Regions from separate parts of the Homo sapiens genome. Here region 2 is linked to region 1. The links are contacts of gene promoters, found by promoter capture Hi-C in human tissues and cell types (Jung and others, 2019). All regions are on one chromosome and are shown on one strand. Each heading gives the region's core, a stretch centred on a gene start or on the middle of the fragment in contact. The rest is flanking DNA. Distances are from core to core; before and after follow the strand shown. Region 1 holds the start of PIK3R5 (phosphoinositide-3-kinase regulatory subunit 5). Region 2 overlaps STX8 (syntaxin 8).

Evidence for each region. The method cuts DNA at HindIII sites, captures the fragments that hold promoters and counts their contacts. A contact is called where the count stands out against the background at its distance.
Region 2: a fragment that was not itself captured here is called in contact with the fragment with the promoter of PIK3R5 in region 1 in 1 of the 25 tissues and cell types used here (thymus).

Annotation. Positions count from the first base shown.
Region 1 is chr17:8,963,323-8,967,490 of GRCh38, forward strand. It overlaps PIK3R5 (phosphoinositide-3-kinase regulatory subunit 5), which reads right to left and starts at 2,385. Exons shown (of 19, transcript NM_001142633.3): 1 at 2,274-2,385. It overlaps PIK3R5-DT (PIK3R5 divergent transcript), which reads left to right and starts at 2,525. Exons shown (of 3, transcript NR_184080.1): 1 at 2,525-2,681; 2 at 3,445-4,168. RefSeq lists silencers at 2,309-2,628, 2,699-2,798. The HindIII fragment of the contact is 11,271 bases long and covers 1-4,168 here.
Region 2 is chr17:9,369,565-9,373,732 of GRCh38, forward strand. The region is part of intron 7 of STX8 (syntaxin 8); the gene reads right to left. Among named protein-coding and RNA genes, the nearest start is that of STX8, 200 kb to the right of the region's middle. The HindIII fragment of the contact is 5,571 bases long and covers 1-4,168 here.

The sequences.
Region 1 (4,168 bases), core at 1,135-3,634:
AACTCTAGGCTACCCAGGCAAAAAGGATCCTGGCTCTCCTCCTCTCCCACTCCTCAGCCAGCAGGCCCCTGATGGATGGCTAACACAGGGGTATGGAGCAGCCTGCACCCCTGCCTTCTCATCCTCATGCCAACATCAACCCCAAATGCTCTTGTCACCCAGTGCCACCAGTTAGCATCCAACCTATTCTTCTTCTTCTTCTTCTTTTTTTTTTTTTGTTTGTCTGTTTGCTTGAGATAGGGTCTCTCTGTGTCTGCCAGGCTATAGCGCAGTGAAGCGATCATAGCTCACTGCAGCCTCGAACTCCTGGGGTCAAGCAATCCTCCCACTTAAGCTTCTCGAGTAGCTGGGCAACCTGTTATTCTTGAGGGCAATAATCAACAGTGAATGGGAGGGAGGAAAGGCAAGCAGGGAGGCAGAGACTGTCTGCTTCTACTGCAGCCTGAGGAGGGAAGATAATGAATCATCCCTCTCGTAAGCTAGAGATGAAAGGAGGGAGGTTCTTAAAACCCTAATGAGGCTCAGCACACAAAGACCCCAAGCCTTCCTGCCCTCACAGTCCTGGTTTGTGAGGCTTCAAAAAGCAGGGGAGGGAGCCCTGAAGCAAGAAAGTAGCTTGACCATCCAAAACTGTCTTCTTTGTCTTCCACGGGTCCACAGGCAAAGACCCACACCACCACAGCCACAACGAGGAAACACGGAAGCCAGCGTTCTACAAACATCCACGGAGCATCTCCCACGTGCAGCCGTTCTCATCATACATGCCTCACTTAATTTTCCACACTGGGCCAGGCACAGTGGCTCATGTCTATAATCCCAGCACTTTGGAAGGCCAAGGTAGACGGATCGCTTGAGCTCAAGGAATTTGGGACCAACCTGGGCAACATGGCAAAACCCTGCCTCTACAAAAAATACAAAAATTAGCTGGGCGCCGTGGTGCTGACCTGTAATCCCAGCTACTTGGGAGGCGGAGGCGGAGGATTGCTTGAGCCTGGGAATTTAAGGCTGCAGTGAGCCATGATCACGCCACTGCACTCCAGCCTGAGTGACAGAGCAAGACCCTGTCTCAATAATAATAATAATAATAATTCCACACAGCTCTATGGGTCAGTATGACAGCCCATTTTATGAATCAGGAGACTGAGGCTGGGTTGGGGGACAGTGTGATGCTGCAGGTCACACAGCTGGATCCGGTTGGAACTTGGGTCTCTTTTCCACATCATGCATGGTTCCCAAGCAACGGCTTCAGCATCATCACTTAAGGAGCTCATTCAAAGTTTTGAAAACTACAGATTCCAGATCCCATCCCTGGAAAGCCACGTTGTAGGGTTGGCTCCAAGAGAGCCCTACCTGCAGTCAGCTCTGGGAGCCAGTGCCTTACAGGTGGTCCTGAGGGCAGGAAGGAAAGTGTGGGGTGGATGAGAAGACACAGAAGGAAAACGAGGGTGTCAGTCCAGAGAGGACCTTGGAGGCAGGCTTGGCCTACTTTTAGCCCTTATTCTGCCTAAACCCACCCCTCCTCTCTACTCCGAGTCTTGTTAACTCGCTTTATACCACATCCTGCTGCTTTAACCTCGCCTTCCTTTTCCTTCTGAACAATCTCCTTCCTCCTACTGACCTGAACTTTTTGTGTATTTACCCCAGGCCGGGATGGGCCAGCACGCGCACATGCGCATGCCCACACACACACACACACACACACACACACGAGTCACGCGGGGATGTCCAGTGTGTAAACACAGATCCTCTGAGAGCAGAAAGCGTGCAGTTCTCTAGGACAGCAGCCGCGTCTGGGCCCAAGGCTGGCTAACTAGCAGGCTGAGTGAGGCTCGACGGAGGGCGCCTTACGCGGGCACTTCCATGACTCCCAGGTTCTGACGGCACAAGAGCCCTGATGCCCACGCTCACGGACAGTTCCCCGCTGGAGCGGGCAGGGGACCTGACCCTACGACACAGGGCGTCCTGTGTCAGAGGCAGGAGGCTGAGGACACAGCTGCGCAGAGCCGCCCAGCAGAGGTTACCCGGATAACGATAAGTGGTCCCCGCGACGCCCCTTAAGTCTCTGGGGTTATCTGGAGCGCAGGTTTGCAGACCCGCTGCCCCCGCGGTGGGCCAGGTCCACGGGGCCGGAAGATAGCAGGATCTGTCCAGCCCTCGGGCTGCGGCGGCTGCTCGCGGAGCCCACTCTCCCCGACGGTCCCCAGCTTGCTCCAGCTCTGCCTGGAGCTCCCATGCGTGCCCTCCGCATCCGCCCTGGCCGCCCAGTCACACACCTGCAGTCCCCGCCGGGCGCCGAGCCCCTCTCCAGCGGCGACTCCCTGCGATTCGGGTGACCGTCGGGACCACCGCGCCCCAGCTGGAGCCGCGCGGCGAGCCGCAGCATCTGCCCAGCCTGGGCTCCTCCGGCGGGCGGGGCGGAGCCTGTCAGGGGGCGGGGCCTAATGGGGCGGGGCTGACCGCGGAGCCGGCCTCTCCAGCCACCTGGCGGCCCGGCAGCGTCAGCCAGGTGCGCGCCCGGCCCCACATCCTCTGGGTCACGCCCCCGAGGCCGCAAGGCGTCTGAGAAGCAGCCCCGGCTCTGACCCGCCAGCCCTCGGAAGAAGCAGACCCTGGCCGGTCCATGGCAGTGGCCCGAGGGGCACCAGCGCGGAGCACCAGCGACCCCCAAGGAGTAAGGGGAGGTTAGGCCCCCGCGTCGGAAGCGCGGCTTTGGCCCCGCAGGAGGGCTGGGCGGAGCAGGGGGGCAGGTCTGGGGTAGGGGCTTAGGGGAAAGACGAGAAAGAGGAAGCTCCGACGAGCTGCTTCCTTCTCTCACTGCGACCCACTTCCTCTTCCTACTTCTATTTTCTTTCTTTTTTTTTTTTTTTTTTTTGAGATGGAGTCTCGCTCTGTCGCCAGGCTGGAGTGCAGTGGCACGATCTTGACTCCCCACAACCTCCGCCTCCCGGGTTCAAGCGATTCTCCTGCCTCAGCCTCCCGGGTAGCTGGGACTACAGGCGCGCGCCACCACGCCCAATTTTTTGTATTTTTACTAGAGACGGGGTTTCACCATGTTGGCCAGGATGGTCTCGATCTCTTGACCTCGTGATCCGCCCGCCTCGGCTTCCCAAAGTGCTGGGATTACAGGCGTGAGCCACTGCGCCCGGCCCCTACTTCTATTTTCTTTGGGTGCCCTTAACCCTTAAAATGCCTGCACTACTGCTGTGCAGACGGGCACCTTGACCCGCATCCTTCTGCAGGAACCTTCATAGAAATACCAGCCAGTCCCGGCGTTCAGCACTGCTGTTCCAGCCTCTGGCTGGACTTCCCGCCCTCCCTGGCCGGCACCAAGGCTACTGTCACCTGAGTGGTTTCCCCAGCCCCTGGGGAAGGGAGTGAGGGTGTGCGGGAGTTCCTGCCTCCAGGGTCAAGGCCCTCTTCTTGCCTCCCCCTTTTCTCCCCCAGACGACGTTGCAGATGATGCTCTACCAAGAGTTGGAAGGACTCCCCAGGGAATCCCACAAGACACTGCGCTTCCTATGCCTCCTTTCCCTCGTTTAAAAAATGGGGATAAGAAGGTTGGCTACTGCTCCGACAGCCCTCACAATGGAAGAGTAGCACTTCATTTGTGGGTTAACAAAGGGCAACGCTGAAATCTCCACTTCCACTATTGAATGGAACTGTGTCATAATATCTGTTAGAGGCGTGCAAACTCGGCCACAAGGTCATGGTCATACGTTATTGTTGGTCAAAAGCCGCAGCCCTACCTGAGGCTTTGAGAGATATGAACACCAATGACTTTTCTTTTCCTGACTCCCGAAATACCAAGAAAAAGCAACTTCCCCAAATGGACAGAAACAGAAAGTACCCTTGGTTGAACACAGAGGCCTGGTTCCAGCCATCGTTAGACGTGGGAAGGAACTCAGACCCCCTCTCCTACCTCATCCCCAACCCCTTCCCCACACGTCACCCTTTCACAGAGAAGGAACCAGAGCCACCAAGGGCTGAGAGAGGACTTGATAAGGATTCCAGTCTTCTGTCTCCCCTGTCCCCACTTTTTCCACCACAAAAATATGGACATTTGGAAGAAGAGGAGAAGAGGGAAGGTACACACTGTGCAAAGGAAGAAAATGGCAGAAATGCTCTGGAATCAGGAATTCAGGAGCAAGAATGACACTGTGTGCCAGAT
Region 2 (4,168 bases), core at 603-3,102, 410 kb after region 1:
ATGTTTTATAAGGTTCAAAAGAGCTAATATGATAAAAAGCATGTTGGTCAGGCACAGTGTCATACATCTGTAATCCCAGCACTTTGGGAGGCTGAGGCAGGCAGATCGCTTGAGTCCAGGAGTTTGAGACCAGCCTGGGCAACATGGTGAAATCCTGTCTATAAAAAATAAAATAAAAATTAGCCAGGCATGACGGCGAGTGCCTGTAGTCCCAGGTACTCAGCAGGCTCAGGTGGGAGGCTCACTTAAGCCTGGGAGGTGGAGGTTGCAGTGAGTGCCACTGCACTCCAGCCAGGATGACAGACCAGACAGACCCTGTACCAAAAAAAAAAAAAAAAAAAAAAAAGAAAGAAAAAAGAAAAAAAGCAAGCCAGGTGCGGTGGCTCACACCTGTAATCCCAACACTTTGGGAGGCTGAGGCAGGCAATCACTTGAGGCTGGGGGGTTGAGGCCAGCCTAAGCAACATGGTGAAACCCCGTCTCTACTAAAAAATACTAAAATTAGCCAGGCATGGTGATACACACCTGTAATCCCAGCTAATTGGGAGGCTGAGGCAGGAGAATCACTTGAACTCAGGAGGCGGAGGTTGCAGTGAGCCGAGATCACACCATTGCACTCCAGCCTGGGCGAAAGAGCAAGACTCCATCTCAAAAAACAAAAATGAATTAAACCCCACATCTTATCATAGCTGGCATTTATAAAGGACTCACTAGTACTAGTCATTGTGCCACCTAACTGTTCTCACTTAGTCTACAGAACAATCACATGTACTACTAATTGCTATCCTCCTTTTAGAGTGAAGGGAACTGAGACTTAGAGAGGGCAAGCAGCTCTCTAAGTCACCCAGGCTGTAAGTGGCAGATCCCAAATTGTGCCCCAGGACTGTCGGACGCCACACCTGTGCTGCATGCTACTACTCTTAACCAGGGTCCTGCCCCACCTCCCTAAGAAGATCACATTCAGATGAGCTGAAGGCAGATCCAATGGTCGTCGATTGAGACAGCATTAATGCAATGTCAGCTGGGTTGATTTCTAACCACATCACTGAAACACTACTAAAATCACAATAAACGTGCTTAGACAACATTACGTAATAGTCAATATGCTGAGAAGCAAGACTGTACATCCACCCGAGTCATTCAGAATTCTTAGTCTGGTCTTTCACAATTGGCGCCCTCTGTCAGACTCAGACAAGGCTCTATTTTGAATTCTAATGAGGACCAAGCACACTGAATATTTAAACTGCAATTACAAAGATCCTACTTTTATGTAAATGTCCTTAATGGAAGTAACAGATCTGAAAATACATAGAGGTACCAGTGGAAAAATATCAGTCTAATTTGCATTTAGAAGCTAGAAAAAAAAAAAAACAGTATTGTTTTCTACTTGATGCTATCATTGGGGTGGGGTTGAGGGAGGAAAAGGGAGGAAAATCCACACAAAAATCTCGGTAAAAATTTTAAAGCCTGTGCTCCTGAGTGAAAGGTTCACAAAGAGGTACTTGAATCCCTTGTTAAGAACTGAACAAACAAATTCATCATCGGGCCTCTCTCCTGTGTGGCCCCTTGCAGTTCAGTCTGTATTCATAACTAGAAATTCTCTCACTGCTCAAGCATCTATGACTGATACATCGGCCCATCAAGGAAGATATGCCAAGGGTAGCGAAACAAAAGGCCATTTCATGATTCACAACCTATTTTTACACTCCTTTGTGTAAAATGATGATGTGGCGGCTGCTATCCACACTGCACCCAAGTCCTCTTAAACAGTGATAGAATTGCCCTGTGAATGGTAATTGAGTTACACTCCACTGGGCTGCTTAATTCCCACCCCCTATAGTTAAAGTACACCTTGCTTGCAGTTTGATTATGCATTTGTATGTGTTCATATATAAAACAGCCAATGTGGCTTTGCACTTGAGAAGAGCAGGTGGTTAACTCTTCGCTGTATCTCGAAGCTCTTGCACCAACCCTCTGCCCCTCAAACGCCTTTCTTATTAAGATCATAATTTAACTGCCTAGCATTTGGGCATTCTCTTCAAGATGCTAACATTTATCAAATGGATTATGCTTTTTTTTTTTTTCTTTCTTCTGGTTTGTCCTCTGGTTGATTCTTTCTTCTGCTGATACCAAATATGTTCACTGGATTTTTTAATTTCAGTTACCTGTTATTTCTAGAAGTTCTATCTGGTCCCTTTTCAAAATTTCTGTGTTACTTATTATAGTTTTCGGGTTTCTTAAGATGCTTTCAAGCTTGTCATTTTTAAAATATATTTTAAAAAGTGGAATTGAGTTTATAATCAACGTCTGATAATTCTACTACTGCAATTCTGTTCAGATTCATGTCCATGGTCTATTGCTGGTCCTCACTCATGCTGTGCTGTTTCCGGGTATGCTAGAATATATTTGACTATGTGCTGGTCATTGCCCTTAGAAATTTATTTTTAGTTGGCTCCTAGCATCCTAGAATATGCTTTCCTCCAGAGGCATTTCATTTGTTTTTGCCAGGCACCTCGAGCTATAACAGGTGAGTCTGCCTCAAACCAAATTCATGGTATGATGTTTCCCGGTCTACCCTGAGTATGTATGTCCAGGGGGCAAATTCACATGTGGGCCTTTCTGTGACCACAAGTTGTCAATACTGTATTTTCCCTCCCGTCTTTTTCTTCTCCTATTCTGCTCAGTGCCAACGCTGCCCTTTCCACAACCCCCCATGGTAAGTTTAGTTCTGGTTCACTTTTACTCTGAGGGTGTAGCTCTTTGGGGTCCCAGTTTCTTGTGGGAAGGGTCTCCCATGACATTTCCTAATTAGAGTGGGTGCCCAGGGACTAAATTTCCACCCCATTTGCCTGCCCCTCTCAGGCTACAGAAGTGTCTGGCTTTATCAGATTAAAAAAATTATTTTTATTTTTATTTATTAATTTTTTTTCTGAGATGGAGTCATGCTTTTTTGCCCAGGCTGGAGTGCAGTGGCATGATCTCGGCTAACTGCAATCTCTGCCTCCCGGGTTCAAGCGATTCTCCTGCCTCAGCCTCCCAACTAGCTGGGATTACAGGCACGCACCACCACGCCTGGCTAATTTTTGTATTCTTAGTAGAGACAGGGTTTCAACATGTTGGCCAGGCTGGTCTTGAACTCTTGACCTTGTGATCCACCCGCCTCGGCCTCCCAAAGTGCTGGGATTACAGGCATGAGCCACCACGCCCAGCCCTCATTTTTTTTTTTTTTTTTTTTTTAAGGAAAATACTGAAAAGTGGGCCAGGCGCGGTGGCTCACGCCTGTAATCCCAAAACTTTGGTAGGCTGAGGTGGGCAGATCACCTGAGGTCAGGAGATCGAGACCAGCCTGACCAACATGGAGAAACTCTGTCTTTAACAAAAATACAAAAATTAGCCCAGCGTGGTGGTGCATGCCTGTAATCCCAGCTACTCAGGAGGCTGAGGCAGGAGAATAGCTTGAACCTGGGAGACGGAGGTTGCAGTGAGCTGAGGTCATGCCATTGCACTCCAGCCTGGGAAACAAGAGCAAGAAGACTCCATCTCAAAAAAAAAAAAAGAAAAGAAAAGAAAAAGAAAAAGAAAAAGAAAATACTGGAAAGTACCTAAGAGTTTAGAGGCTGAAAGCAAAACCAAGCCAGGCTAATATGAAGGTTCCTCAAACATTTAAAAACTGAATTACCATTTTATCCAACAACTCCACTTCTGTATATATACACAAAAAAGGAAAGACTTGAGCAGCTATTTGTACAGCAACATTTATGGTGGCATTATTCACAATAGCCAAAAGGTGGAACAACCTGTGTCCACTGACAAATGGATAAACAAAATGTGATATATACATAAAATGGAATTATTATTCAGCCTTACAAAGCAATGAAATTCTGATACACACTACAACATGGATGAATCTTGAAGACATCACCCTAAATAAGCCAGATATAAAAGTATACATATGATCCCGCTTACAATAGGTACCTAGAATAATCATATCTACAGAGACAGAAAGTAGAAAAGTAGTTACCAAGGGCTGAAAGAGGGAGGAATAGGGAATTATTGTCTTGGATAAATTTCAGTTTGGGATGTTAAAAAAAGTGGCTGGGCGCAGTGGCTCACACCTGTAATCCAAGCACTTTGGAAGGCCGAGGAGGGTGGATCACCCGAGGCTGGG